Linked DNA regions of Homo sapiens: all the other regions are linked to region 6. The links are contacts of gene promoters, found by promoter capture Hi-C in human tissues and cell types (Jung and others, 2019). All regions are on one chromosome and are shown on one strand. The core of a region is centred on a gene start or on the middle of the fragment in contact, and the rest is flanking DNA. Distances in the headings are between cores, read along the strand shown. Region 1 overlaps GFOD2 (Gfo/Idh/MocA-like oxidoreductase domain containing 2). Region 2 overlaps CBFB (core-binding factor subunit beta). Region 3 holds the start of CBFB (core-binding factor subunit beta). Region 4 overlaps CBFB (core-binding factor subunit beta). Region 5 overlaps PHAF1 (phagophore assembly factor 1). Region 6 holds the start of TPPP3 (tubulin polymerization promoting protein family member 3).

Evidence for each region. The method cuts DNA at HindIII sites, captures the fragments that hold promoters and counts their contacts. A contact is called where the count stands out against the background at its distance.
Region 1: a fragment that was not itself captured here is called in contact with the fragment with the promoter of TPPP3 in region 6 in 1 of the 25 tissues and cell types used here (pancreas).
Region 2: a fragment that was not itself captured here is called in contact with the fragment with the promoter of TPPP3 in region 6 in 1 of the 25 tissues and cell types used here (small bowel).
Region 3: the fragment with the promoter of CBFB here is called in contact with the fragment with the promoter of TPPP3 in region 6 in 1 of the 25 tissues and cell types used here (adrenal gland).
Region 4: a contact is called between a fragment that was not itself captured here and the fragment with the promoter of TPPP3 in region 6, in 4 of the 25 tissues and cell types used here (IMR-90 fibroblasts, dorsolateral prefrontal cortex, liver and 1 more).
Region 5: a fragment that was not itself captured here is called in contact with the fragment with the promoter of TPPP3 in region 6 in 1 of the 25 tissues and cell types used here (dorsolateral prefrontal cortex).

What each region holds. Positions count from the first base shown.
Region 1 is chr16:67,695,527-67,699,873 of GRCh38, reverse strand. The region is part of intron 1 of GFOD2 (Gfo/Idh/MocA-like oxidoreductase domain containing 2); the gene reads left to right. Among named protein-coding and RNA genes, the nearest start is that of GFOD2, 22 kb to the left of the region's middle. The HindIII fragment of the contact is 7,245 bases long and covers 1-4,347 here.
Region 2 is chr16:67,100,412-67,104,705 of GRCh38, reverse strand. It overlaps CBFB (core-binding factor subunit beta), which reads right to left. Exons shown (of 6, transcript NM_022845.3): 6 at 3,648-4,294. Among named protein-coding and RNA genes, the nearest start is that of PHAF1, 7.4 kb to the left of the region's middle. The HindIII fragment of the contact is 4,683 bases long and covers 1-4,294 here.
Region 3 is chr16:67,027,138-67,031,848 of GRCh38, reverse strand. CBFB (core-binding factor subunit beta) reads right to left here and starts at 2,700. Exons shown (of 6, transcript NM_022845.3): 1 at 2,364-2,700; 2 at 2,036-2,122. The coding sequence starts at 2,441. RefSeq lists silencers at 1,918-1,967, 2,218-2,457, 2,548-2,737 and an enhancer at 3,298-3,437. The HindIII fragment of the contact is 10,821 bases long and covers 1,094-4,711 here.
Region 4 is chr16:67,043,113-67,048,111 of GRCh38, reverse strand. The region is part of intron 3 of CBFB (core-binding factor subunit beta); the gene reads right to left. Among named protein-coding and RNA genes, the nearest start is that of CBFB, 16 kb to the right of the region's middle. The HindIII fragment of the contact is 7,078 bases long and covers 1-4,880 here.
Region 5 is chr16:67,128,454-67,132,916 of GRCh38, reverse strand. It overlaps PHAF1 (phagophore assembly factor 1), which reads right to left. Exons shown (of 16, transcript NM_025187.5): 4 at 1,588-1,631; 5 at 392-471; 6 at 6-100. Among named protein-coding and RNA genes, the nearest start is that of B3GNT9, 20 kb to the left of the region's middle. The HindIII fragment of the contact is 3,254 bases long and covers 107-3,360 here.
Region 6 is chr16:67,391,271-67,395,925 of GRCh38, reverse strand. It overlaps TPPP3 (tubulin polymerization promoting protein family member 3), which reads left to right and starts at 2,428. Exons shown (of 4, transcript NM_015964.4): 1 at 2,428-2,546. It overlaps ZDHHC1 (zDHHC palmitoyltransferase 1), which reads left to right. Exons shown (of 12, transcript NM_001323627.2): 9 at 360-442; 10 at 646-739; 11 at 864-924; 12 at 1,033-1,774. The coding sequence ends at 1,316. The HindIII fragment of the contact is 12,612 bases long and covers 1-4,655 here.

The DNA.
Region 1 (4,347 bases), core at 1,022-3,521, 300 kb before region 6:
TCCTGGCCTCCCAAAATTCTGGGATTACAGGTGAGCCACTGCACCTGGCCTTTTTTTTTTTTCTTTTTCAGTTAAACATTTTGCTATCCAGGCTGGGCGCGGTGGCTTGCTCCTGTTACCCCAGCACTTTGGGAGGCTGAGGCTGGTGGATCGCTTGAGGCCAGGAGTTTGAGACCAGCCTGGCCAACATGGCAAAACCCCTTCTCTACAAAATGTACAAAAATTAGCCAGGCGTGGTGGTACACATCTGTGGTCCCAGCTGCTCGGGTGGCTGAGGCACGAGAATCACCTGAACCCAGGAGGCGGAGGTTGCAGTAAGCCGAGATTGCGCCACTGCATTCCAGTCTGGGTGACAGAGTGAGACTCTGTCTCAAACCAAACTAACAAACAAAAAAACACCACATTCTCCTATCCAATAGTAGTTGATTTTAGAATGTTGAGCCAGCCTTGCATTCCTGGGATTAAACCCCTGTTGGTCATGGTGTATTTTTTTTTTAATTTTTATTTATTTTTGTTTTGTTTTGTTTTTTAGAGATGAAGTCTTGCTCTGTTGCCCAGGCTGGAGTGCCAGTGGTGCGATCTCAGCTCACTGCAGCCTCTGCCTCTTTGGTTCCAGCGATTCTGCTGCCTCAGCCTCCTGGGTAGCTGGGACTACAGGTACCCACCATCACGTCTGGCTAATTTTTTGTATTTTTAGTAGAGACGGGGTTTCACCATGTCAGCCAGGATGGTCTCAATCTCCTAACCTCATGATCCGCCCGCCTTGGCCTCCCAAAGTGCTGGGATTACAGGTGTGAGCCACCACGCCCAGCCACATTGCTAGATTTAATTTGCTAATATTTTGTTGAGGATTTTTGTGCCTAAGTTTATGAGACGTATTGGTCTATAGTTCAGTTATTTATTTTATTTTATTTTTTTGGCTCTCCCACCCTGCTGATAATCCCAAATCCTAGTGATAACTGTCTGCTCCATTTCATTCCCTCCATTAGACCCTCCTTATGTCTTACTTGATATCCTAACTGGTTCTCTGTGTCTAATGTCTCCTAAACTCTATCCTACCTACGTCTTTCTGCCAAATTAAAGAAAAAAAATGCAGGCCGGGCACAGTGGCTCACGCCTGTAATCCCAACACTTCGGGAGGCCGAGGTGGGCAGATCACCAGAGGTCAGGAGTTCGAGACCAGCCTGGCCAATATGGGGAAACCCCGTGTCTACTAAAAATGCAAAAATTAGCTGGGCATGGTGGCGCACACCTGTAATCCCAGCTGCTCGGGAAGCTGAGGCAGGAGACTTGCTTGAACCTGGAAGCAGAGGTTGCAATGAGCCAAGATCACGCCACTGCACTCCAGCCTGGGTGACAGAGCAAGACTCCATCTCAAAGAAAAAGAAAAAGAAAAAAAATCCAATGGTTCTTATTGCTTACCTGCATTAGTCAAGGTCTAGACAGGAAACAGTCAGTGTACTCAAAGGGTTAATTAAAAACTCTTTAATGAAGGGATTATTCACAATAGTGTGAGTAGTAAAGGAAACATACAAGGGATAGTGGAGCACCCAGGGACTGGCAAGGTAGTGTCCCCACCCTAGGTGCAATGACGGAGTGGGGATGTGTCACTGGAACCCAGCAAAAGCAATGGCCATGGGAGAGAGGGGTCCTCTAAAGGAGCTGTGACCTTGGTTAAGGAACACAGCTCTGCCAGAACCATATCCTGGGAGGGAGAGAAGGCAAAAAATAAACACCTTGGCCTTTCCTCCTGCTCGCTGATCTCTTCCTGGTTCTTTCCCTTGGCTGGACTCAGATGGAAGCCAGAGGACCTGGAGCCCAGGGCTTTAGAGACTGACCTTCTGACTCCAGAGACAAAAAGCAGGGCAGAGAGGATCAGGTAGGGAAGGAGGAGCAGACCAAGAATACTGAGCACACCCACCTGTCAAAGTCCAAACTCTTGAGATTAACACTTTACGCCACCAGTTCTGGCTCCTACTCACCTTGCTGACTTGTCACCCCTGAAATTAGGACTTTTCATCTTTTTATGTCCCACAGCTCCCTCGTTAGCTCCTCAGAAAAGGTGAGACATTGACCAGATTAGTATTGGTTTTGAACAGTGGATCAGAGGCAAACAGTCACCCCCAGAGCAGACAGTGGAAGGAACTTGCCTGGCTCACACTCATGAGGAAGGATGGAAGAAGAGTTGCTCCACACATGCACATGTTACAAAATGACTCTTTTTCTTTCTTGTTTTTATAGAGGCTCAGAGAAGTGAAGTAACCTGCTCAAGGTTTCATGCTGGTTGTAGCAGGTCATGCACACAGCCAGGCGTGGAACCCTGGGAGAGTTACCTCACCTCTTTGAGCATGTTTTCTTATCTGTACAACAGGGTTGCATGGAACAAGGGACAGACTAAACACTGGCTGCCCTATTATACTCACTTCATATTAGCTCAGAATTATGACCCTCATATTTCTACTCAACTTTTGAAGAAGAGACATCTAAGTCAGTCACAGATAGTTAACAGATATCTTTTTTTCAGAAAAAGATTCCCTATGTACTGACTCATATCTAATTGGCCAGGCCCAATTATAAGTATTCTACAAATATTAACTCAATCCTTAAATCCCCTGTGAGGTAGATAAAATTTCCCCATTTTACAGATGAGGAAATGGAGATACAGAGTGACTAAAGGACTTACCTGAGGTCACCCAGCTGGAAAGTGACAGAGCCAGGATTTGAACCCAGGCAAGGCCTTGTCAAATTGTATATAGCCTGTCCTGCCAAGGCACACTTCATTCCTGACCAGCATGTGGTGATGGGAAATGTATGTGGTCTTGGCAGGACTGGGTTTGTGGAGATCTTTGGAGGCATCTGAAGGATATGTGCAAGGATGTTAAAGACAAAGAGTGGGGAAATTTTAGGGGTGAGAAAGGGTAGCCACTGAAATTAACAAGGAAAACCAGCTCTGCCTGCTTGGGCAGGAAATACCTAGTCAGCAAGCCTGCCTGCCTTCATGCCATCTGGCTTCCTCGGGGGCCAGCCAATACCCCTTTATGGGAGTTGATGAAGCTTCCCTTTGAGTCAGTGGCAGTAAAACAGGTTATTAAAAATTTTTCGGCCGGGCGCAGTGGCTCACGCCTATAATCCCGGCACTTTGGGAGGCTGAGGCAGGCGGATCACGAGGTCAGGAGATCCAGACCATCCTGGCTAACATGGTGAAACCCCGTCTCTACTGAAAATACAAAAAATTAGCCGGGTGTGGTGGTGGGTGCCTGTAGTCCCAGCTACTCGGGAGGCTGAGGCAGGAGAATGGCGTGAATCCAGGAGGCAGAGCTTGCAGTGAGCCAAGAGCGCGCCACTGCACTCCAGCCTGGGTGACGGAGCGAGACTGTCTCAAAAAAGAAAAAAAATTCTAGTCCATTCTGTTGTTTTAAGCTACCGATACTTATATATATTTTTCACTTCATATTGGCTCAAAATTATCATCCTCATATTCCTACACAGCTTTTGAAGAGGAGACATCTAAGTTGGTCATAGATACGTAATAGATCATTTAAAAAAAAAAAAAAGATTCCCGGCCGGGCGCGGTGGCTCACGCCTGTAATCCTAACACTTTGGGAGGCTGAGGCGGGCAGATCACGAGGTCAAGAGATCGGGACCATCCTGTCCAACATGGTGAAACCCCGTCTCTACTAAAAATACAAAAAATTAGCCAGGCATGGTGGCGGGCTCCTGTAATCGCAGCTACTTGGAAGGCTGAGGCAGGAGAATCGCTTGAACCTGGGAGGTGGAGGTTGCAGTGAGCCGAGATCGTGCCATTGCACCACTCCAGCCTGGGCAAAAAGAGCGAAACTCGATCTCAAAAAAAAAAAAAGGGTTCCCTATGTAGTGGATACATACATTCCCTATATATACCCAAATACAACTAGGGTGAGAAGGAACACGGTGTGAGAGTGGAGGAGGTGTGCCCTGGGCATGAATTTAGAGAAGACATGGACTGTGTCTCACTCCCTTAGCCCTGTAACAATTAGTAATTAATGACCAACAAAATTTGGCTGGGCACAGTGGCTTATGCCTGTAATCTTAGCACTTTGGGAGGCCGAGGCAGGAGGATCACCTGAGGTCAGGAGTTCGAGACCAGCCTGGCCAATATAGTGAAACCCTGTCTCTACTAAAAATACAAAAATTAGCCAGGTATGGTGGCGCATGCCTGTAATCCCAGCTACTCGGGAGGCTGAGACAGGAGAACCGCTTGAACCCAGGAGGCTGAGGTTGCAGTGGGCCAAGATCATGCCACAGCACTCCAGCCTGGGTGACAGAAATGAGACTCCGTCTCAAAAAAAAAAAAAAAAAACTTAAGTA
Region 2 (4,294 bases), core at 886-3,385, 290 kb after region 6:
AGAGATTGAACCACTGCACTCCAGTCTGGGCAACAGAATGAGACTCCATCTCAAAAAACAAACAAACAAAACAAAGCAACATAACCAGCCTATCCTGACTGATAAGAGAAATTGGGAAAACTGTCAATTATGCCTCCTGTACTGTTTATAGCTTTGAAATGTCTCCATGCCAACAAAGCTACCCTTAATCTTCCTGTGTTACTATATCGTATGATCAGTGGGACCAAGTTTCTGACTCCAGTCTTATTCTCCCCAAACAAAATTGAGTTTTCTCAAGCACCGATTCCATCAAGGTCATAAGCCCTCAATGGCTTCCTGTTCACCCTTGGGAATGGTCCAAATGTTTTATTTAACACGGTTGGAAAGGCCAGTCCAGCACTGCTTGTGACTCTTACCCTGCCCTCTGCTGGGTGGAATCTGCCCTTCTGGATTCATCTCACTGCTGCAGCCCCCTCTTTTCTGTTCCAGTCATACTCAGCTGCTCTTAGCTTCTCAAACTTGCCAAGCTATTGGCTAGCTACCTGCAATACCTTCTCTAGCTAGCTTAAGGTCTGCCATCCTTCAGATCTTAGCTCAAACATCTCTTTTTTTATTTTTGAGACGGAGTTTCACTCTTTCGCCCAGGCTGGAGTGCAGTGGTGCAATCTCGGCTCGCTGCAAGCTCCGCCTGCTGGGTGCATGCCATTCTCTTGCCTCAGCCTCCCAAGTAGCTGGGACTACAGGCGCCCGCCACCACGCCCAGCTAATTTTTTGTATTTTTTAGTAGAGACGGGGTTTCACCATGTTAGCCAGGATGGTCTTGATCTCCTGACCTTGTGATCCACCCGCCTCGGCCTCCCAAAGTGCTGGGATTACAGGCGTGAGCCACCGCACCCACCCTCAAAACATCTCTTTAGGGAAGCTTTTATTCACCACCCAGACTAGAATAGATGTACTATAAGAGCCAGTACTTCTAATGTAACTTAAACAGTGTTACTGCCTTTGGTCAGCTTTTTAGCTAGACTGTAGATTCCTTGTGAGCAGGGAACATGTTTATTTTGGACACTGGATATTTCCCCCCCTAAATGATAACCATACTTTTAGTCTCCAAAAAAAAAATAGAACTTCAACATTTTCCATTTTTATTTTTATAGGTAATATCTTGCTCTGGTGGCCCAGGATGGAGTGCGGTGGCAAGATCATAGCTCACTGCAACCTCAAAATCCTCGGCTCATGCGATCTTCCCACTCCAGCCTCCCAAGTAGCTGGGACTTAGAGGTGTGCACCACCATGCCTGGCTAATTAAGAAAAATATTTTTGTGCAGATGAAGGTCTTGCTATCTTGCCCAGGCTGGTCTTGAGCTCCTGGCCTCAAGCAATCCTCCTGCCTCAGCCCCCCAAAGTGCTGGGATTACAGATATGAGCTACTGTGCCTGGCCTTTTATTTTTATCTACAACATCTCCTCAACATTTCTGAAATCTGAATGAGGCCAATAACGACCTTAATTCTAAGTTGCTTAAATTTTCTAACCAAAAGCTGGGAGTTGACTAAAACAGTGACTTATCTGTTTCAGAATATTCCATATTTAAACAAACTAAACTGCCATTTCCATCCATGATTTCACCCTGTGACTGTCATTTTTTAGCTTTGGAACATTTCTGAAATGCCATATATGAATATATGATGGTGATGCAAGAAAAGGGGTTGATGCTATCTAGGGGGAATCATGTATTCAAATCTGCAAGACTGAAATCTTACCTTTAAAGAATGTTTAGATTAAAACACCAAAGGTATCTTTTTTTTTTGAGATGGAGTCTCGCCCTGTTGCCCAGGCTGGAGTGCAGTGGTGCGATCTTGGCTCACTGCAAGCTCCACCTCCTGGGTTCGCACCATTCTCCTGCCTCAGCCTCCCGAGTAGCTGGGACTACAGGCGCCCGCCACCACACCCGTCTAATTTTTTGTATTTTTAGTAGAGACGGGGTTTCACCGTTAACCAGGATGGTCTCGATCTCCTGACCTCATGATCTGCCTGCCTCGGCCTCCCAAAGTGCTGGGATTACAGGTGTGAGCCACCGCGCCCGGCAAAACACCAAAGGTATCTTATACTCAGTTACGTATATTTGGTAATATCACCATGGTGGTTTAGAAAGATGTCCACAAATGCTTTGACATCCCCGCCTTCAACAGATGAAGCTTAATATTCCTCCCCCTTTGAGTGTGGACCAGACCCAGTGACTTGATTCTAACATACAATATGGCAGCCCAAGATTCAGTTCTAAGACTGTGCTTTTGGCTGGGCATGGTGGCTCACACCTGTAATCTCAGCACTTTGGGATGCCGAGGCGGACGAATCACTTGAGGTCAGGAATTTGAGACCAGCCTGGCCAACATGGTGAAACCCCGTCTCTATGAAAAATACAAAAATTAGCCGGGCATGTTGATGGGCACCTGTAATCCCAGCTACGTGGGAGGCTGAGGCAGGAGAATCGCTTGAACCCGGGAGGGGGAGGTTGCAGTGAGCTGAGATTGCAGCACTGCAGTCCAGTCAGTCTAGGCAACAGAGCGAGACTCCATCTCAAAAAAAAAAAAAAAAAAAAAAAAAAAAAGACTGTGCTTTCAACTTGGGTGTGCGCTCTCTTGGATCACTTGCCTTGGGGGAAGCCAGCTACCCTGCTGTGCACTGTCCTATGGAAAGACCCAGCTGGGCATGAAATGGAAGCAGGTCTCTGTCCAACATCTAGCAAGGAACATCTGCCTTTCATCTAGCAAGCTGCAAAGAACCGAGGCCAGTCAGTGACCACATTAGTGGGTTTGAAAGGGGATCTTTCATCCAGTCAATCCTTGAGATGACTGTAGCCCAGGATGACTCTAACCTTATGAGGAACTCTGAACCAGAACCATTGATCTTAGCTACTTCCAGATTTGTGACTCACCTGTGGGATAATACGTATTTATTGTTTTAAGCTGCTAAGTTTTGGGGTAATGTGTTATGGATAATACAATGGTTTATAGATTGAAAAGCTCCTCATTGCCAAATGAGGCATAAATCAAGTAAGATATTTTTCACCAAGCAGCCCCGAGCTAGCATATCCAATTATGTTTCTAGAAGTGATATACTTACTAAAACCATGCTGTTACTGCTCAATTTTTTGAAATTAACTCTCAGAGCATGAATCCTACTCTTTGGAATTTCCCTTAATGGTGTCAATTCAGAATTTAAAGGCATTTTTGTCATTTGCAGTAAGTCTTGTGGTTAATGAGTGAATCTGTTTATCATGTGTCAAGCTTAAGGCATACTTTCAAGGAAAAGGGCTTACTTTTCTGTTGTAGGAAAATGCCAGGAGTCTTAAGAATGTTTGATATAACACCAGCACAATCAAAACGGCTGTATATTTCCAAAACAACTAGCTTGAAAGATGGAACTAATTTGGATGTGTAATTTAAAATTCTTTCTCCCAACATCACTACTTTATGGTCATATCTCACAGGATGGGTAAATCAAGCCAGATTTCTTGAAAACCATAATATACACTGGGGGATTTGTATACCTTGTGATACCTATATTTAAAGTAGTCTTCTTTGGAATCAACAGAAATTACCACTAGATGCCACTGTTGTTGCTTTCTTAGAAATTACTGGGTTAGGTCAAGAAAGAGCCAAGACCCTGTTTTTACTACACAGAAGTTTATTGTGAAAGTAAATTAAACAAACAAACACACAGTATGGCCAATGGTGGCAAAAGCAATCTGGTAGCTTAAGGCAAGTTTTAATGGAGATGAATTTAGAAAAGATGATGCAATGATGTAATTTTGTTTAAATATAGATTATGAAAAAATATCAAATTGCATCAATAACTTAATAGAAGTAGTTTTCAAAGCCTGTACTACTGGAGAAAAAGGGCTCATGATCTTAATGCCAGCATTAAGACAGACAGAAGCAGCATGGTGCTAAATGACAGAAAAATCCAGTATTTACATTAGGATGGTAACAGGAACATTTAAGAGCATTTGATCTTATTTACTGGTGGACCGAAAGCCCTTAGCTAGACAATAGAGGAAAATGTACCATCATCATGTTATTTAAAAAAATTTAAGTGCAGAAGTAAAAAACCAAGGAGCTCTGTAATAAAGTAACATAAAACACCACTGTAAGGATCACTTAAAAAGCGATTCCCTCAGGGGAAATTAGGGCACTGAGTGTGTAAACATGTGAGCTGTACAACACCAAAACCAACCAAATTCATTCATAGTACTTATAGTTATGCAAGATCAGCATGGCCTTTAATGACGCATTATTGTTTGTAACAATTTAAAC
Region 3 (4,711 bases), core at 1,451-3,950, 360 kb after region 6:
GCAAGACCTCTCTCTTAAAAAAAAAAAACGAAACAAGACCAGACGCGGTGGCTCACACCTGTAATCCCAGCACTTTGGAAGGCCGAGGTGGGAGGATTACTTAAGGTCAGGAGTTCAAAACAAGCCTGGCCAAGATGGTGAAACCCCGTCTCTACTAAAAATACAAAAAAATTAGCCGGGCGTGGTGGTGTGTGCCTGTAATCCCAGCTACTCAGGAGGCTGAGGCAGGAGAATCGCTTTAACCCAGGAGGCGAAGGTTGCAGCGAGCCAAGATCATGCTGCTGTGCTTCCAGCCTGGGTAACAGAGCGAGACTCCGTCTCAAAACAAAAAAGCAAACAGTGAGAGTACAAGTACTTTGTAACTTATCTTTTATACTTGCATCCTTTACCTCCAGGAAATTCTATCGTCAGGTATACCACCTTCCCTTTGCAAAAGGTAACCCAGGCAAAGGATGACACGATCATCGCACCAGCTAATGAATTCTTTTATTATACCACTCAGTGCCAAAACCTAAAAGTATGTCTTATGCACTTCAATCATATAAATACTACAATTACTCAAGAAATTTGCAAGTGGGCTAAAAGCTTGAGACTCTCTTTCATAACATGCACTAATGACCAAATATTCAGGAGCTCCTGATAAATTTAACCAGTATCTTCTCACTATTACAACTCTAAAAAGCTTTCACTTAAAATATCAAAATATTCTTTAAAAATAAATTTGAGTTCAGTGATGTAAAGGGAGAATTTTATGACATATGAATTATATCTGAATAAAAATAAACTGGTTTTATAAAGGGGGTGGGAGAAGTAAATTTCCAATGTCTTCCTACTGTTAACCCAAATTCAAATCGCACCTAGCTTCAAGCCTCTAACAATGCAGTGAGTCCAAGTCACCGAGCAGAGAGTAACAGCATTCCATTAGACAGTGCTTCAACTTTTTAAAAAATAATCAGGCCAGACGCAGTGGCTCACGCCTGTAATCCCAGCACTCTGGGAGGTCGAGGAGGGCGGATCACTTGAGGTCAGGAGGCCAGCTTGGCCAACAAGGTGAAACCCCGTCTCTACTAAAAATGCAAAAATTAGCCGGGCGTGGTGGCAGGCACCTGTAATCCTAGCTACTCAGGAGGCTGAGGCAGGAAAATCGCTTGAACCCAGGAGGCGAAGGTTGCAGTGACCCGAGATCGAGCCACTGTACTCCAGCCTGGGCAACAGAGCAAGACTCTACCTCAAAAAAATAGTAATAATCAACCTCTTTTCTTGGTTTCTTCCTACCACTCCCTCCTCATCAGCACCTCCAACAAGGCAAACCAAAAAGATGAGAGGAACTAGGACCCTTGGATTTTTTTTTTCAACCCAAGGTCTGGTGAAGACGCACTAAATCTGCCTCCTAAAACAAGGACCTCGAGATCAACCGTGGGTTTTGCCCATCTGTGCAGTTTTTAGGAACAGCAGCCCTACTCAGGACATGGGGATAATGGTTTCTTTCTGATTCTCCTGAAGCTTAACATTCTAAGAAAATGACATTTTTAGGGCCTTTTCCCCCCCCTCCCCTCTCTATTAGAATAAATAACTGGAGGAAAGATTTCTACTCGGCGATCTGGTAGTGAGACCGCTTGACACAGAGAATTACCGACAGATCTACCTTCTAAGAAACAAACTATCGCCGACCTTGAATGAAGCTCCACTTCTTTTTCCGAATGGGGGTTTGCTTGCTACAAATACCCTGAACCCTTCTTCGGTGTCGCCGCCTAAACAATGCCCTTCGCTTGTTTAGTCTGGCTCGGGTTCGAGCTCCACTCGCGGTGCTCCGTTGGCCGACACGCGCCACCGCGGCGAGCCCCAGGAAAAGCGTCTCCCCGCGAGTACCGGCCCGCGGCATCTGGTTTCGCATTTTGAATCCCGAGTAGGAAGTGAGACGGCGCCCACTCAGTTCCGGGAGCCGCAGCAGCCGCGCCGCCGTCCGGAACCGGCCTGGGCCGCCGCGGCCCCGCGCAACAAGTGACCCGCGCGCGCCCCGGGCCAGCCGACTTACGATTTCCGAGCGGCCGTCGCGGCAGGCGTTCTGGAAGCGTGCCTGGCGTTCCTCGTGGGGCCGGTCCCTGAAGCCCGTGTACTTAATCTGCAAGGCAAGACGGCCCGAAATCAGGAGCCAAATCCGCGGCGCCGCCCGCGCGCCCGCCCTCCCAGCGCAGCGCCGATAAGGGCAAGCAGAGGCTGCGGGCGATGGCCGCCCCGGCGAGATTGCCCCTCCGCGGGCGCACCGACCGGGACTCCCGGGGACCGTGCCGCCCAAACTTTTCTCCGCCCGGGCCCACTCGGGGCGCGCTGCGGCCTCCTAGCCGCCCGCCCGCCTGCCTCACCTCACACTCGCGGCTCAGCTTCCTAAAAAACTCCTCGTTCTCGAACTTGCTTCTCTGGTCGGGCACGACGCGCGGCATCTTCCCGCCCTGAGGCCGCGCCGGCCGGCCGCGCTCGGGGCTTGCGCGGGCACCCGCTGGCTGGCTCCGCGCTGACCGACTGACCGCCCACCCGCGGCGCCCGGACGCCCGCTTCCCTTTGTTTCAGGCGCCCGCCCGCGTGGGCTCCCGTTCCGGGGAGTCTGAGGCGCCGCCGCCCGCTCGAGCCCAACCCACGCCGCCGCCGCCGCCGCCGCCGCCTCAGCCGTTGCCTGCCGCCCGCGCAGCCCCAGCGCTCACCGCCCCCGGCCGCCGCCGCCGCCGCCGCCGCCACTTCCTCTCACCGCCCACCCCGCCCCCGCCGGCCCCACCCCTCCTCCTCGCGCGCCCGCCCGCCTCCAACTCCGGCAAACAAGACGCACCATTCACAACTCCGCGGCCCACGCCGCGCATGCGCCACCCGCCCGCTGGCGGAGCGGCCTGGCTGTGGCGCCCCGGGGCTCCTTCCGCATCAGGGCCCTTTTCCCCCTGCTCGCCCGCGGCCACTCGGCGTGGAGCTGTCGTTGGGGGATCCGCCTGGCCTTTAGCAGACGGGAGTAGCCAGCGCAGGCCTTTTCTACCGCCCTTCCTCGGTCATCTGGAACTTCTGGGTTCCCCAGGTGCGCGGAGTAACCCCAGATTGTCACTTGAACGCGAGGAAACCTAAGTCCTTGGGGACTTTTCGTCCCTAAACCGACCGGCAGGGGTGTAGGCTCTGCACGTTGAAGACTGAGGTGGAAACGGACCAAAGAATCCAACCGAGTCATGGTGGAAAGGTCGTGGCTTTTGGAGTCAGATGGGTCTTAGATGGGATCCCACTCAGCTACACTACCTGCTGGCTGGGGCCTTAGATAAGAATTGGACCACTAAACCTCAGTTTCCTTATTTCCAAAATGCAGACACTCCTAGGTTTGCAGTGTTAGCGTGAGAACCTTTATGTGGGTCTAGCACACAGTGGGAGCCCAATAAATTTAAGTTTCTAAAGAAGAACAAGCTGAGTTAAGAATGTAACCGATTGCCAGTCCATATACTTACTCAATGTGCAATCAGCTGCAAAAAATAAGATCCATAAATTCTAGGGAAGTTGTTTAGCCCAAACTGGAGAAAGTCTGACATGGGATTTATGGCAGAGTTTGATTCAAAGTTAGTCCTGTGGCCGGGCACTGTAGCTCATACCCGTAATCCCAGCCCTCTTTTTTTTTTTTTTTTTTTTTTTTTTTTAAACAGAGCCTCGCTCTGTCGCCCAGGCTGGAGTGCAATGGCGCGATCTCGGCTCACTGCAACCTCCGCCTCCTGGGTTCAAGTGATTCTTCTGCCTCTGTCTCCCGAGTATTTGGAATTACAGGCACCCACCACCACGCCCAGCTAATTTTTTTGTATTTTTAGTAGAGACGGGGTTTCGCCATGTTGGTCAGGCTGGTCTCGAACTCCTGACCTCAGGTGATCTGCCCGCCTCGGCCTCCCAAAGTACTGGGATTACAGGCATGAGCCACTGCGCCTGGCCTAATCCCAGCACTTTGGGAGGCCGAGGCAGGCTGATCACCTGAGATCAGGAGCTCGAGGCCGGTCTGGTCAACATGGCAAAACCCCATCTCTACTAAAGTACAAAAATTAGCGGGGTGTGGTGGCACACGCCTGTAGTCTCAGCTACTCGGGAGGCTGAGGCAGGAGAATCGCTTGAACCTGGGAGGCGGAGGTTGTAGTGAGCCAAGACGGTGCCACTGCACTGCAGCCTGGGCCACAGAGCAAGACTCCGTCTCAAACAGCTACTCGGAAGCTGAGGCAGGAGAATTGGTTGAACCTGGGAGGCAGAGGTTGCGGTGAGCCAAGATCGTGCCATTGCACCCCAGCCTGGGGAACAAGAGCATAACTCCGTCTCGGGGGGAAAAAAAATCCATGAGGAAGCACTCTTGCTCCACAATGGGTCCAAGGAGGGCTCACAGACCTCCAAGTTGATCTTGGCCAAAGACTCTAGCAATAATTGTTTCTGCCATGGGAAATGTGGAATAAATAAAAATTGAAAGATCTCTAGAATGGCCTTGATGGCCATGAGCTTAGGCAAGGAAAAGGTCAGGGTCAAGGGAGCTAGACCTGGAGGGGTGGGAGTGCAGAGCAGGGCAGGGCGCTCTCATTGTCAGCCTCAAGGAGGGGAGGAACGATGTCCTAAGGGAAAGGGACAGCAAAGCCTGCCAAGCAGACCCAGAACAGCAGCCCCACAGACAGCCTTGGGCAACTCCAGGCCACAGGGTAACCCACACTCGTCGTAGTCTGGC
Region 4 (4,999 bases), core at 92-2,591, 350 kb after region 6:
TGCGACACCACGCCTGACCAATTTCTGCATTTTTATTTTTATTTTTTTTGAGATGGAATTTTGTTCCCAGGCTGGAGTGCAGTGGCGCGATCTTGGCTCACTGCACCCTCTGCCTCCCAGGTTCAAGTGATTCTCCTGCCTTAGCCTCCCGAGCAGCTGGGACCAGAGGCACCCACCACCATGCCCAGCCAATTTTTGCATTCCTAGTAGAGACGGGGCTTCACCATGCTGGCCACGCTAGTCTTGAACTCCTAACCCCAGGCGATCCACCCGCCCTGGCCTTCCAGAGCACTGGGACCAAAGGCACGAGCCACGGCACCTGACCCAGTAAAAAAATGGCCAAGAAATGTTCTGGATAGCAAAGGGATGGATAGAAACTCAGGACTAAAAAGCTGGTGTGAATAAATATCCTAAAAAAAAAATTTAAAGGGTTCTCCCAAATGGCTCATTACTTAGAACACTGTTCTGCAAACAGGGCCACACGATTATTAGAAACTATCATTGTTATTATATGGAACAAACTTTGAACATCTATGATATGGGCAGATTTGTTTATTTGAAAACATCTACATTCTTCTAATGTAAATGTCGAAGTCACAAGTTTCTAGGCCATCCTTTTGTTTTAATCTGAAGATTAACCTGTCTTTACATCTGAAGTTTTAAAACACAAAAAGGCTCAGTACTGACTGCATACATGGGTAAAAGGTTTTTCATCCACAAAAACAACCTGCCAACCATCCCCAGACTCAGCCCTTTCCCTCTTAGGTACAGCCTGCATTAGAGTCCTGAAAGCACAGCAATACTGCCAAGAGGCACGTTTTATTTTTTTAAATAGTTTCCACACATGGCATTGAAGACATTTCAAATGGTATTTATTTATTGAGACAGAGTCTTGCTGTGTTGCCCAGGCTACAGTGCAGTGGCATGATCTCAGCTTATGCCTGGCTAATTTTTTTTTTTTTTTAGTAGAGACGGGGTTTCACTATGTTGGCCAAGCTGGTCTTGAACTCCTGACCTTGTGATCTGCCTGCCTTGGCCTCCTAAAGTGCTGGGATTACAGGTATGAGCTACTGCGCCCGGCCCTTCAAATGTTATTTAAAATTCTTAGTTCCTAAACACACATCAATTTGAGGAGGCCCAGCTTAAACTGAAAAGCTTATAACAGATAATACTTTCCAACTGTTCACGTGCATACTTTCATAAAAAAAGGAACAATAATTAAAGTCTACCATATCACTATTATACTTTAGCTTGTCTGTAGCTTCCAATCCTCTGTACAAAACTAAGCATCAAAGAATAATATTGAAGAAACAAAGTCTCTGCACCTGAAGGTAAACAGCATTTTTATGCTGTTAAAAAGAAATTACAAACGTTTTCTTCCCTGTAAGATGAGGATCACAAAAGTATCAGTGCATGTATGTCTGCATCAATTAGAACACTACCTGCAAGGGGGCATGAGGGAACTTTTTGAAGCAATGGTGAACTTTGGTGGTGGTTATACTACTGAATACACAGTTGTCACAGACTTGTACACTTAAAATAGGTGAACTGTACTACATGTAAATTATACCTCAATAATGCTGATTGAAAAACTACAAGTGAAAATGGGAAATAGTAAAACTAGGGCATAGCAGTGCTACAAAGAAATTAACATCTTCAGACAACAACATTTCAATAGTCTTTATCCTGGCAGCATTTGAATTAACCATTAAAAAAAAATGATGGGTACATGCCTGTAATCCCAGCACTTTGAGAGGCCAAGGCGAGAGGATTGCTTGAGTCCAGGAGTTTGAGACCAGCCTGGGCAACATGGTGAGACCCCCATATCTACAAAAAAATTACCTGGGCATGGTGGCGCGTGCCTGTGGTTCCAGCTACTTGGGAGGCTGAGGTGGGAGGATCGCTTGAGCCCAGGAGGCAGAGGTTGCAGTAAGCCAAGATCACACCACTGCACTCCAGCCTGGGTGACAGAGAGATATCTAGTTTCAAAAACAAACAAACAACAACAAAAAAGGCCAGGCACAGTGGCTCAGAGCGCCTATAATCCCAACACTTTGGGAGGCCAAGACAGGCGGATCACCTGAGGTCAGGAGTTTGAGACCAGCCTGGCCAAAATGGTGAAACCCCATCTCCAATAAAAACACAAAAATTAGCCAGGTGTGGTGGCGGGTGCCTGTAATCCCAGCTACTTGGGAGGCTGAGGCAGGAGAATCGCTTGAACCTGGGAGGCGGAGGTTGCAGTGAGCCAAGATTACATCACTGCACTCCAGCCTGGATGACAGAGCAAGACACTGTCTCAAAAAAAAAAAAAAAAATGTAGAAAGTAGAAGGAAGGAGGGGAAGAGTGAAGGATGCTCTTCTCAGACATATTATTTCTGCCTTCTCTCACTTGGAATATGTAATTCAGGAAAGGTCATGAAAGAGAATTTCACCTTTACACTAAAATGGAAATAATGCAATCCAAAAGAAGAGAAAACGGGACTTCACAATCTTCAAGTGCTTCAGAGGTGCATTTACCATGTATGCAGATTCACGTACTCTAACTGGAAGGTACTATGACATACTAATTTTAAAACATTTTAATTTTTTTTTTTTCAGACAGAGTCTTGCTCTGTTGCCCAGGCTGGAGTGTTGTGGTACAATCTCAGCCCACTGCAACCTCCGCCTCCCGGGTTCAAGCAATTCTCCTGCCTCAGTCTCCCAAGTAGCTGGGATTACAGGCACATGCCAGCATACCTGGCTAATTTTTTGTATTTTTAGTAGAGGTGGGGTTTCATCACGTTGGCCAGTCTGGTCTCGAACTCCTGACCTCAGGTGATCCACCTGCCTCGGCCTCCCAAAGTGCTGGGATTACAGGCATGAACCACCCCACCTAGCCAAAACATTTTAATTTTTTCAGAAAGTCGACTTCCTCTCTTAGATTGAAAAATAACTAAAATAACTAAAATAAAAACTTTTCTTTAAAAATACAAACGCTCTGCCAGCTACAAAGGTGTCAAATATATATATATATATAAGCTTGCAGTTACCAGTTCTAAATTTTATGATTCCGTTATTATTAGAGTATTATAGTTTATCTAAAGCATATTTTTAAAAACCAGATTTCAATACACTAAACTGTCAATAACTAAGTGCTGTCAATTCATATTTTAGTCGAACTGAAATACTTAAAATCCAGATGTGACAAGGTATTTGTAAAGTTGTCTAATTTCTCTTGAAGAAAATCACACTCCAAAGCTTTACCATAGAGATCTTTTATTTGGAATGACTGGGCTATCTACAGAGAAGGAACTTCTTGAGCTTAAATAGGGATTTCTCAAAGCTAACATCAAGAAGTCCTGTAAACTCTGCCAAATTGTGGATGGTATATAAACAAACACAATATGTATTTTGGGACAAAGATCCTGCAGGCAAGTGCGTAAATGGTACCAGAAGAAGCAGAATCATAGACCTTTATTAGAAAAGGCCATTTAAAATAAAATTCTGTCCTCACTCATTAAATCCAATCTTGTTAGATTTTGCTTTATTTTATGCTCATAAAAATAAATTAAAAGACTTTTAAGTATAAAGTCCAGAAAGAAAAAAAATACAACTTATCAAAATTTTTAAAAGTAGCTACTCTAATGACATATACTTAATAAATACTTCTCGATGTCTGACATTAATGTATTTGACTATCAATTAAAATCATAAGCTATAAACAAGAATGTAACAACCATAGAAAAGTTTAACCTCTCTTTTTCTGAGGTCAATGTGGTAAAAACGAGATAGCATATTCAATTTCCACAGAAAAAAATGAACAGTAGCACTGTAAAGTTCATTTTTTTCCTTTTATGAAATGATTTTCATACCCCTTATCTTTAAAGTCATAAACTGGGATCGCAAAGTAAGTACATCCAATCATTATTTCAAAATCCCAATGAAGCTTTATGAGACACAGAATACATGTAAAAACCATTAATCTGACCACTCAAGACTAATAATTTATGGTCAACCATAATCACTTGCATTTATTTGAAATAAAAGTAATTGGAAATAAGTCCTAAGAGGAAAGATCAAAGGAACTGGAGTTGCCTGGTCTACACAATTTTAACTTAAGAATGATTTAAATTCTGATTAGTTGCTTTTCCCTTGTCTTTTGACAGCTAGATTAAAGAATTAAGAACATTTTGGCTGCCAGTGTTTGTAACACACCAGGATGGAACACTTGGGAAAGATGTAGTGTTCCAACATTGTTCAACTACCTGACGTGAAGCTTACCTAAGGCACACTGTAGCACAAACACTCTATCAATCAGTTAGCTATAATCTCACCCTACAGAACCATCAAATTGCCTAACTGTAGACAGGGGTTTACAATTTAAAAGGCATTTTCACATATTCTGGTACTACATTTAATTCTCACATGAGGCACATGAATAGGGCAGACATTCTGATCCTCATTTACATGTTAAGGAAAATAGTTATGACTGTCTTGACTCAAATCTAGAGCTCTTTCTATTATACTGTTATTAGTTTAAATCATTTCTGAGAAAGATCCTTATTAAGAGCCAATGTAGACAGCTCACCAGGTACCTGGGTATAAAAGTTTCAAATATATTTGAAGGATTATAAAATTCTGTGCTCTGACTTGGTCATATGTAAGGTATATACTTATAATCAGTCACCCGTTAACAGACCTTCCTTATAGAAGCCCTTGATTTGAAAATATTCTATAGCCACATAAGCAACAGAATGAATAAAAGGACTAATTTCTATGAGCCCATTTTCTTAAATCATAAAACTGTATTTCAAATAATAGAGAATATAGAGCTTTTTGTTTCCGCTCTATTAGGATTCTAATTTTTTCTGAGTTCGCTAAATTTAAGTGAGTATTATTGTAGCTGGCCTCCAAGATGGCCTCAATGATCCCAGCCTCCTGGTATTCACACCCCTGTGTAATCCCTCCCTCCCTGTTGAATGTGGGCTAGACTTAGTGACCAGCTTCTAATGAACAGGCT
Region 5 (4,463 bases), core at 484-2,983, 260 kb after region 6:
CTAACCTCATACTTTGGAGCCTCAGTCCATGAGTCTAACTGAAAAGAGAAAGACAGTCCTCTGAAGTTGAGATGGAAGAGCTGCTCAGCGGAGTTGTACACTGTTGGGGGTGGGGGAGAAGAAAATAACATGGTTGACTGGCATCTGAAATGGCTAACATAAACCAGCCTGGCAGGGAGTAATGACTGACAACACCTTCCCTGTGGCTTGTTTCTAAACTGGCCTACTAGGTTGAAAACAAGGGGGAGGATGTTTCCTTCACACCCAAGTACCAACCCCACAATCCTATGGGAGCCTGACTCCAGGAAGTGGGGTGGGATGGCACTACCGGGCAGGTTTATTGCTATGAACTGCCACTGATGACCAGAGGAATCAGATGGACTTGGCTTACCTCCAGGATGGGTTGCGCCAAAAGACTGGTCAATCTGTTCAATGGTAGGAGCTATGGCCTGAGAATTAAAATGCACGCCACTGAAAAACAAAAATATTTTTTAATACTAGGCTTCACAAGATGGGCCCACAGATCATGTGAGATAGTAGCTGGGAGAGTTATTTTTAAGACACAGGCAGGTGAGTCTCTAATTATATCAAAATACAAAGCTTAATTAGAGAACTTTTAAATAAGAGCATTAATGAGGTCAGGAGAAGGTCAGTTCTCATGAGGCTGATATACAGAGTTGATCCTCTGGGGCTTTATGACACCAGTGACTCTTAAGAAAAGGGTAGAGAAGAGAAGCCACCAGACCCTGAGGTATGAAGGCCCCAGTAAAACTAAAAGACAACTAGAACCTGCAGGGGCCAGTGGTACCACACATTTGCTTGTCTACTCCTCTATCAGCAAAACTGCCTGAGCCTGCCCCAGGAATCAGGTCCTCTTCACACCCTCAAAAAGGGAAAGGGAAGCCAGTTAAGGAGACTTACTGAAAGGAGTATTCTATCGCTTGAACCCAGGAGGTGGAGGTTACAGTGAGCTGAGATGGCGCCACTGCACACCAGCCTGGGTGACAGAGAGAGACTCCGTCTCAAAAAAAAAAAAGAAAGAAAGAAAGAAAGGAAGGAGTATTCTAGATTTTTAGATGCAGGCATGCTGCCTTGCCATAATGGGGGCGCAACAACTTTGGACTGTGCATGTCATCCCCGCTGTAATTCTAAAAAATACATTATAGCTCTAAAATGGTGGTCTCTTTGGCATTCTCTTCAGCATAGGCTTTGGAGTCAGACCTATCTGGTTTGTCCCACCTCTGTTACTCATGAAAACATGAAAAGAGGTGCCAAGAGAGGCTGTCAGCGGGAGGGCAGCTATGACCCAGGAGACTGTCACATCACCTCTGAGCTGAGGTCTGGCTTTGTCAAGTGGATTAAGTTAGATGACATATACATGAAGTGTTAAACACATCACATATTCTTAATGAGGTTTACTTCTCTTCTCCAGGAAACTGAGCAGGCTTGAAGGTTGCCTCAGGAATTCATGGCACCAGGCTATAATTCACATCTGTGACAGATGTGAATCTTTACTAACTTATGAAGATAGTAGATATGGCCTGTCTATACCAAGTGTGACATATACCAGCAGGGGAGAAAACTTACCAATATTTTAACTTTACTTTAGTCAAATCACATACTTCGATCACCTAAAAAAAAGTTTAAGAGTTGTCAATGCTCTGAAAGTGATGACAGACTAAAAATGATTAAAAATACATTTATAGAATAAATAGTAAAAAAAAAAAAAAAAAAAACTATTACCAATAGAAATTTTATGGAAGCACTGCATGTTATCTTTTGTTCTCATTTAAAATTTTTTTAAAAACTTTTTGTAGAGATAGAATCTTAGCAAAACTAAAAAACTATGTTGCCCAGGCTGGTCTCAAACTCCTGGGCTCAAATGATCCTCCTGTCTTAGCCTCCCAAAGTGCTGGGATTACAAGCATGAGCCACCATGACAGTCCTTTGTTATTTTGAAACCAGGGAAAAAACCAGTTTCCCCTTCAGCATAACCATAGCCAGTGTCCCCTTCAGCATAACCTCTTAGCTTCCCTCTCCTAGTGGACTGCTCAACAGATGTCCATGGATGCTCTGGGTCAAGGCTCTTACATGCAGTCCACTTCTGGGTCAGGCTGGAGCACACACCACCCTATAGGACAATGATCTCTTCCACAGACATGAAGCTTGTTAAGGCTCTGCTTTGGGCACTAAGCCCCCTTCCTCCCATCTCATATTTTGCTGCATTTTAAAACCCAGGTCGGGTTGCTTTAGAAAATAGCTTATTTTAGCCGGGCACGGTGGCTCACGCCTATAATCCCAGCACTTTGGGAGGCCCAGGTAGGTGGATCTCCTGAGGTCAGGAGTTCCAGACCAGCCTGACCAACATGGTGAAATCCTGTCTCTACCAAAAATACAAAAATTAGCTGGGCGTGGTGGCACACACCTGTAATCCCAGCTACTGTGGAGGCTGAGGCAGGAGAACCGCTTGAACCCAGGAGTTGGAGGTAGCAGTGAGCTGAGATTGCGCCACTGCACTCCAGCCTGGGTGACAGAGCGAGACTCCGTCTCAAAAAAAAAAAAAAAAAAAAGGCCGGGCACGGTGGCTCACGCCTATAATCCCAGCACTTTGGGAGGCCGAGGCGGGCGGATCACAAGGTCAGGAGATTGAGACCATCCTGGCTAACACGGTGAAACCGTGTCTCTACTGAAAAATACAAAAAATTAGCCAGGCGTGGTGGTGGGCGCCTGTAGTCCCAGCTACTGAGGAGGCTGAGGCAGGAGAATGGCGTGAACCCGGGAGGCAGAGCTTGCAGTGAGCGGAGATTGCGCCACTGCACCCCAGCCTGGGCGACAGAGCGAGACTCCTCCAAAAGAAAGAAAGAAAGAAAGAAAATAGCTTATTTTGAAGTTGATTTTGTTTACAAAACAAAAAGATGGAGGGGGAGGTCTATCCCATTAGAAAGCAAGCCATAATATTTGTCACACAAGTGTGACAGTATTCAGTTATGTCCCTGATGAAGAGGATCTGGTTGAAACAAGAAAGCCTCAGGACCTTTGTGAAGCTTGCTCTTTAATGGGTTCAGCCTCAGATGAAATTCTAAGAACTCAGGGCAGGGCAGAGATAAAGGAATAGGCATCACCTAACACTCCGCCATCAGTGGTGCCAAGTAATAAGCACTATGAAGTCCTCCATGCAATGGTGTCAAGGGCTTGGCAGCCAGCAGCACAGGTAGGGGCTCGGAGCACCATCTACCATCCTCCAGCTGGGAGGTTTTGCTCTCATTGTGGAGACACAAGCAGAGCTGGCTCAATATCTGTTTGTCCTGCCAATCTGAGCCTGATTGTGGAAGAGGCTGTGGGGCATTGTATGCAGGAACATCTGGCACTGCCAAAGAAACTGAGACATAATAGATAGTAGGTTCGCTTTTGGCCAGAGACCCTATCCCTAACTTTATTTAGAGACCACAACACTGAACCAAATTGGATACCTCTTGACTATAATGTAGCTCTTTTGATCCTATCTGCTAGAAAGAACTGCTCCCTCTGCTAGGCCGTCACAGCACTGGAATGAATCCTTTCCTCCATACTTGTGTATTCTGTTAAGTGGTCCAATAAGTTAAGCCCCTTGAGGGACTCATTAATTTGCATAGGGAAGGTGTTCAATTCATGTTAGGCAATTCTGCCTGGTATGAAGCTTGAAAGCATGAAAAGAAGTGCCAGGAGGGGCTGTGGAAGGAAGGGCAGGGGAACAGCTATGATTCAGAAGATAGCCAGTGTCCCCTTCAGAATATCTGGGCATGGGAATATATCATGCCAAACTGGCATGCCATTTCACTGAGGCCAGAGCCTTGTCTAGCAGAGAGCCTCTACCTTCAGCCAGAAGCCCTCCTGTTCATAGCAGGCACAGGCACTCACCTCCCTCACTTCTATCCCTACAGCTGGCCAGTCATCCCCCAAAGCTTCCCACCACCCGCCCTGTGGAAGTGAGCCTGCACGATGTTCCTCCTGTATCACTGGCACCCCACCTGCCAACAGCTATACGGGTCCAACACATATAGGTGCTTCGACCCTGCCTGATCAATGGGAAAACAGTGGACCAGAGCTAATCACAGGGCACGAAGCAGCACTTGTGGCAATGGACCCAGAGTGCTGGCCATCCTGGAGTCCTTCATGTCACTAGGAGCATCAATAAGCAGATTTCATCTCTTGGAGCTTGCTGCACTACAGGGACAAGCAGCTGGGAAGGCTAAAGCCCATGATTTTCCATCTCTGGGCTACAGAAGCTCCTGATTTCCCCAGAGGGGAAGAGATGTGGCAGCAGCCAAGATAAAAATGGAAAAGACAGGTGGCTGTAAAGGTTGTGACTTATAAAGCCTCATTCCACAGGGCTGTCTCTCTTAGGCTTGAGGCAGGGGGTGGGAAGCAACTATAGGAGGCAGCATCAGAAGAGGTGGATTCTGAAGGTGTTGGATGGAAGGGCA
Region 6 (4,655 bases), core at 1,179-3,678:
GTTCAGAGGCTGGATCCCTGGGGACACCAGGAGCAGGTGCGGGCAGCTCTGAGCTTCCCACCACTCCCTGGCTGAGCCTCTCTAAACTGGGCCTATAGACCCATGGGGGCTGGGAGCCTTCCTGCAGGAGGCAGAGGCTGAATAGATGAGGTAAGGACCTGGGGATGGGGCAAGGGCCAGAAATGGGTGTTTTAAGCCTTACCCTACAGATGGGGTTTTCCCAGCATGGCTGGGAGCCTGGCATGAGGCCTGAGATATCCCACAGAGGCCAATGAGGGCAGGACTGCGTGGGCTTAGGGCTCAGCAGGCTCGGGAGCCACACCTGGCCTCCCAGCCTCCTTGACTTCCACCTTCCCCAGGAGATGGAGTTCTACATGCGGACCTTCAGACATATGCGCCCAGAGCCCCCTGGCCAGGCCGGGCCAGCAGCAGTGAATGCCAAGTGAGTGCAACCTGGGCATGTGCCACTGGGCATCTCCAGTTAGCATGGCAGGGCCATCGAGGCAGGAGAAGGGGGTAGGCTAAGGTCGGGGCATGGGTCAGGCCCTTCTCTGAGCTAACAGGAAGGGAAGCTTCTCTCAGCACCTCCAGTGGGGAGGGATTTGGGGAACAGGCCCCAGGCTTACCCTCCTGCTTCCCCCTCAGTCCCTCCCAGTTTCTTGCCACCCGTGGCCAAGCGGAACCTCCACCACCCTCTTCCCCAGACACTCTCGCCCTGCCTCCCCGGATCCGACCCCAGGTAGGAGGGACTGTGCTGGGCCTCCGGTCCAGGTGGAGTGGGATAGAAAGAAGCCTCTACCCTGGCGCTCGCCTCTGCTTCTTTTGGCGATGTGGGGCCCTCAGGCTCCCCCGTGTCTCTGCAGAAAAAGAGGAAGAGGCGCGTGTATAAAGTGCGAACGTCTGAGACCTCGGATCCGGCGTCGGGTGAGCGCCTCTCCCTGTCCGGGTCCTGCTCTGGGAACTCGAGGGAGGGGAAGGCAGAGCCACAAGCGAGCCGCAGCCACTGGGCTCATGTTCCCTTCCCTTGCGCAGGGCCTAGGGCCCCCAGCCGCCGCTCCAGCTCGTCGACGGATTCCGCGGACGCCAGCCCTGTGCACGCCGCTGGCCCTGCCGGCGCCTACCACTCGGCGTCGGCAGAGTCCGTGGACGAGATTCCAGTGGCGCAGACGCGCCTGGGCAGCGCCGCTCTGGCCGCCCCGCGGGGCCGGGGCCGACAGCCCACGCTGGCGCGGCAGGCGCGTGCGCCCGCCGTTTTCGTGAGCCCGAGCAGCGGCGAGCCCAGGGCGCCGGGCGGCCGGGAGGCTGGTCTGGCTTAGCTGGGCCGAGAGGCCGGAGGGCCGAGTTAGAGCGGCCGGCCTGACTCTCTATGCAACACCCCATCCTTGCCGCACCGAGTGCACTTTAGGGGCCCCTACGGCCGGCGGGATCGGCCTCCCTCCCCCACGACTCAGCAATACCCGCCCCACCGGCTGTGATGCTCCAATAAACTTTTTTATGCTTTTGCGGACGTCGCGCTTACTTTCTTAATGGCAGGGGCCACGGGCCATCCAGAAGCCCGACCCTGGCCAGTGGACCGGGGGCGGGGAGGAGGTCCCTGTATAGTAGGTAGCCACCCAGGCTGCCCTGTGGAGGTGCTCACGTGCGGCTCGTGGTTAGGAAAGGCCTTAGAAGGCGGCCTGGAGGAGGTTATTTTTCTTAAAGATGGGCTTTGCACTGGGAGGCCGAGAGAAAGCAGGCTTTGGGCTCCGAAAGCAGCAGTGGGCGCTGAGGCTGCGAGGCCGTGGGGAGGTGGCGGCGAAAGGAGGGGGCCGAGCCAGGAGGTCCCGCAGCTTTTCCCCGGCAGCAGGGCTGCCGTCGAATGCCAGCATCCTGGGGCTGGGCGAGCGCGATTCGCTCGTAGGGAGTCCCCTCCCTTCTTCCCCACTGCTCCAGGCTCTGAATCCTACCCAAGAGAGCACGGGAGTTGTGGCCTGGGGGTGCCATCCGTTCAGTGGATGGCAGTGCTCTTGAGTCAACCGTATACCCCTGTCACTGAGGGAGAGCTCCTTCCCGATTCCCCAAGCCCCACCAATGCCCCGCGCAGCTCCCCAGTGGCCTCTGGTTGACTCTCTGGGGAGCTGGATCTCTTCTGGAGATTGGGGCCGCTTAGAGCTTTAGGCACATCCCAGGATGGGAGGCTGTTTCCTCAGGGGGCCGTCCGAAGACGCCCCGAACTGCAGAGCGCTGGTCTCGCCGTCGCGAGGACCGCGGAGTTGCGGGGGAGGGGCGGGATGCGGCTCCCGGAGAGTCTCGGGGAGGGCGGGGCCTCGTGGGCGGGGCCGGCGTGACCTTGGTCACTCTCCCGCCGAGACAGCCTCGGGGGTGGGACTCGCCGTCTCTATGGAGACCGAGAAACAGGGGATAATACGGCGGAGCCGCCTGGGCTGCAGTCCCACCCGGGAGCCGGCAGGGAGCGGAGCTGCGGAGCCGCCTGGTCTCCCGCGTCCATCGGTCCATTCCTGCGTCGTTCTGTCCTTCCGAACGCACACTTCAGGAGCAGCCGCGAGGTAGAAGCCCATAGGAGACCCAGATGCCCGCCACCCCAATCAGTATCCTGCACGATGAGGGTTGGGGGGAGCAGCCTGGAAAGGGTCCCAACCTCCGGCGGTCCCAGCCGAGGAGCCAGCTGAGCGGCCCTGCCCTGGCCCCAAGCATTCCACCTCGCAGCCCCCACCTCCTGGTCCGGCTGATTGATGACTCCAGCTGTCCCAGTGGGAGCGGGACGGGTGGCTCCAGTTCACGGGTGTGGCCACTCCATCCATGGCCTGCAGACCCATGGGGCTGCGGCCTGCAACCCAGCGCCACCTGACCGCGCTGAGATGACCAAGAATCCATCTTTCCACGGACAGGAGTGAGCACTGCACGCAGGATCCGCCCAGTGCTTGGGCCAAGCACCCTGTGGCATCCAAGCTCCCCTGGACGTTACCCTTGGTGAACCAAGTGCGGGTCTTGGGGTCCCTGGTGGGAGGTTGCACCCAGGGAAAGGGAAGGGGAGTGCAGCGTGGACTGGGGTTATGGTCCCTGTAACGTAGGAACCACCGGTGCTCACAGTCCCAGAAACTGCCACTTAGGGATGGGAGTGTGGTCACTGGCGAGGAGTTTTTGGTGGAAGATGGGGCAGCCGGGCAGAGCCCAGGCCGTGGTCACTGGAAGCCCTAGTGTAAAAGGCAGAGCTAGAAGATGGTTGCTGAGACCGAGGGTGTGGTCAGGAGGTGGCAGTGGAGGAGGGGGATGTGGTGGGGAGGTCTCTACGCAGGGGATCTCCGCATAGTACCTGGGAGTCTTATAATGTTAGTGTGTGGATGTGGACTGGGGCCTTCAGTGCAGGCTGAGGGTGTGGCCAGAGGGCTGAGGGTGTGTGGACAAAGGGGTGCTGAGGGTCAGGGCGCCTTGATAAAGGGCTGCGGGTATTGGAGGGGGTGAGTGGCTGAGGCTATGGTCAGGGGTCTCAGGAAGGGATGCAGGTTTGTGGCCAGGGGCCTCAGCCCCAGGGCTGCGGGTGTGGGGATGGAGAAGGCTGCTGTGTAGGCTCAGGGTGTGGCCAGGGGTCTGCAGCGGAGGGCTGTGGGTGTGGGGGGCACTTTAGTGCTGGACTGTGGGTATTACTGGGGTTGGCGCAGGCTTGTTAGTATATATGTGGGGGCTGGTGGCCGAGGGCTGTGGCTGTGGGTGTGAAGATGGAGGATGGAGGGCTGAAGGTATGGCCAGGGGTACAAGGCCCAGGGGGTGGCAGGCCAGGGCTGAGTGCACAGGGTCGCTGGGAATGTGGGCTGGTGTGGCCAAGTTCAGGGCGTGGCCAGGGGAGGTCTGAGGTGTAGACATGATGAAGTGTGTTTCAGCCACAGCCCCACTTGCCAGCACGACTCTTGGGGTTCGTAACTCTACAGCCCCCACGCTACTAGCCCCCAACCTCCTGCTCCCCCAAAACTCCACAGTGGGAGGTTACAGCACCAGTCGGTGGCAAGGGGCCAGGAAGCCACGGTTATGCCCTAGGCGCAGGGAGTGCTGGCGTGCCCCACCCGTGGGCCCCAGCTTCCCAGCCCAGCCCAGCCCCTCAGCACTGGGAGCTTCTCCCTGAGCTGCCCTGACACCATCCTGCCCTTAGCAACATTCTCCAAGCAGCACCACCCTCCCTTAGCAACCGTCTCCAGGCTTCACAAACTGTGGCCAGGCCAGCCCCAAGCTCCCCTCATGTTTTTGTTTAACAGCAAATAGTAACAAGGCCTTGCTGGACCAGCTGCACCCCTGCCCAGGGCATGCACCCGTGCCCAGACTGGCTCTTGCTGGGTCCTCATGACCCTTACAGAGATGCTGTCCTCACTGAATGCCTGCCCGACCAGCAGCCTGGCCTGGCCCCAAGCCAGCTTGGCATGGAGCTTCCAGGGAGGGGGCCTGCTCTGCCACCCTCACTTCCACCCAAGCAAGGCCTTGTGCCAGGGCCAGACAAAGCCAGGGCCCCAGCTGCTGCCCTAACAGTCTTTCTGGACAGTGCCACTCTGTTCCCTGTGGGCATCATTATTTCATCTGCTGAACCCTGCTGAGAGCCAGGGCTGGCATTAGTGACAAGACCGTGCCTCCCGGGGCTCTTCCTTGGGGCTCTGTGGCCCAGGGCGACA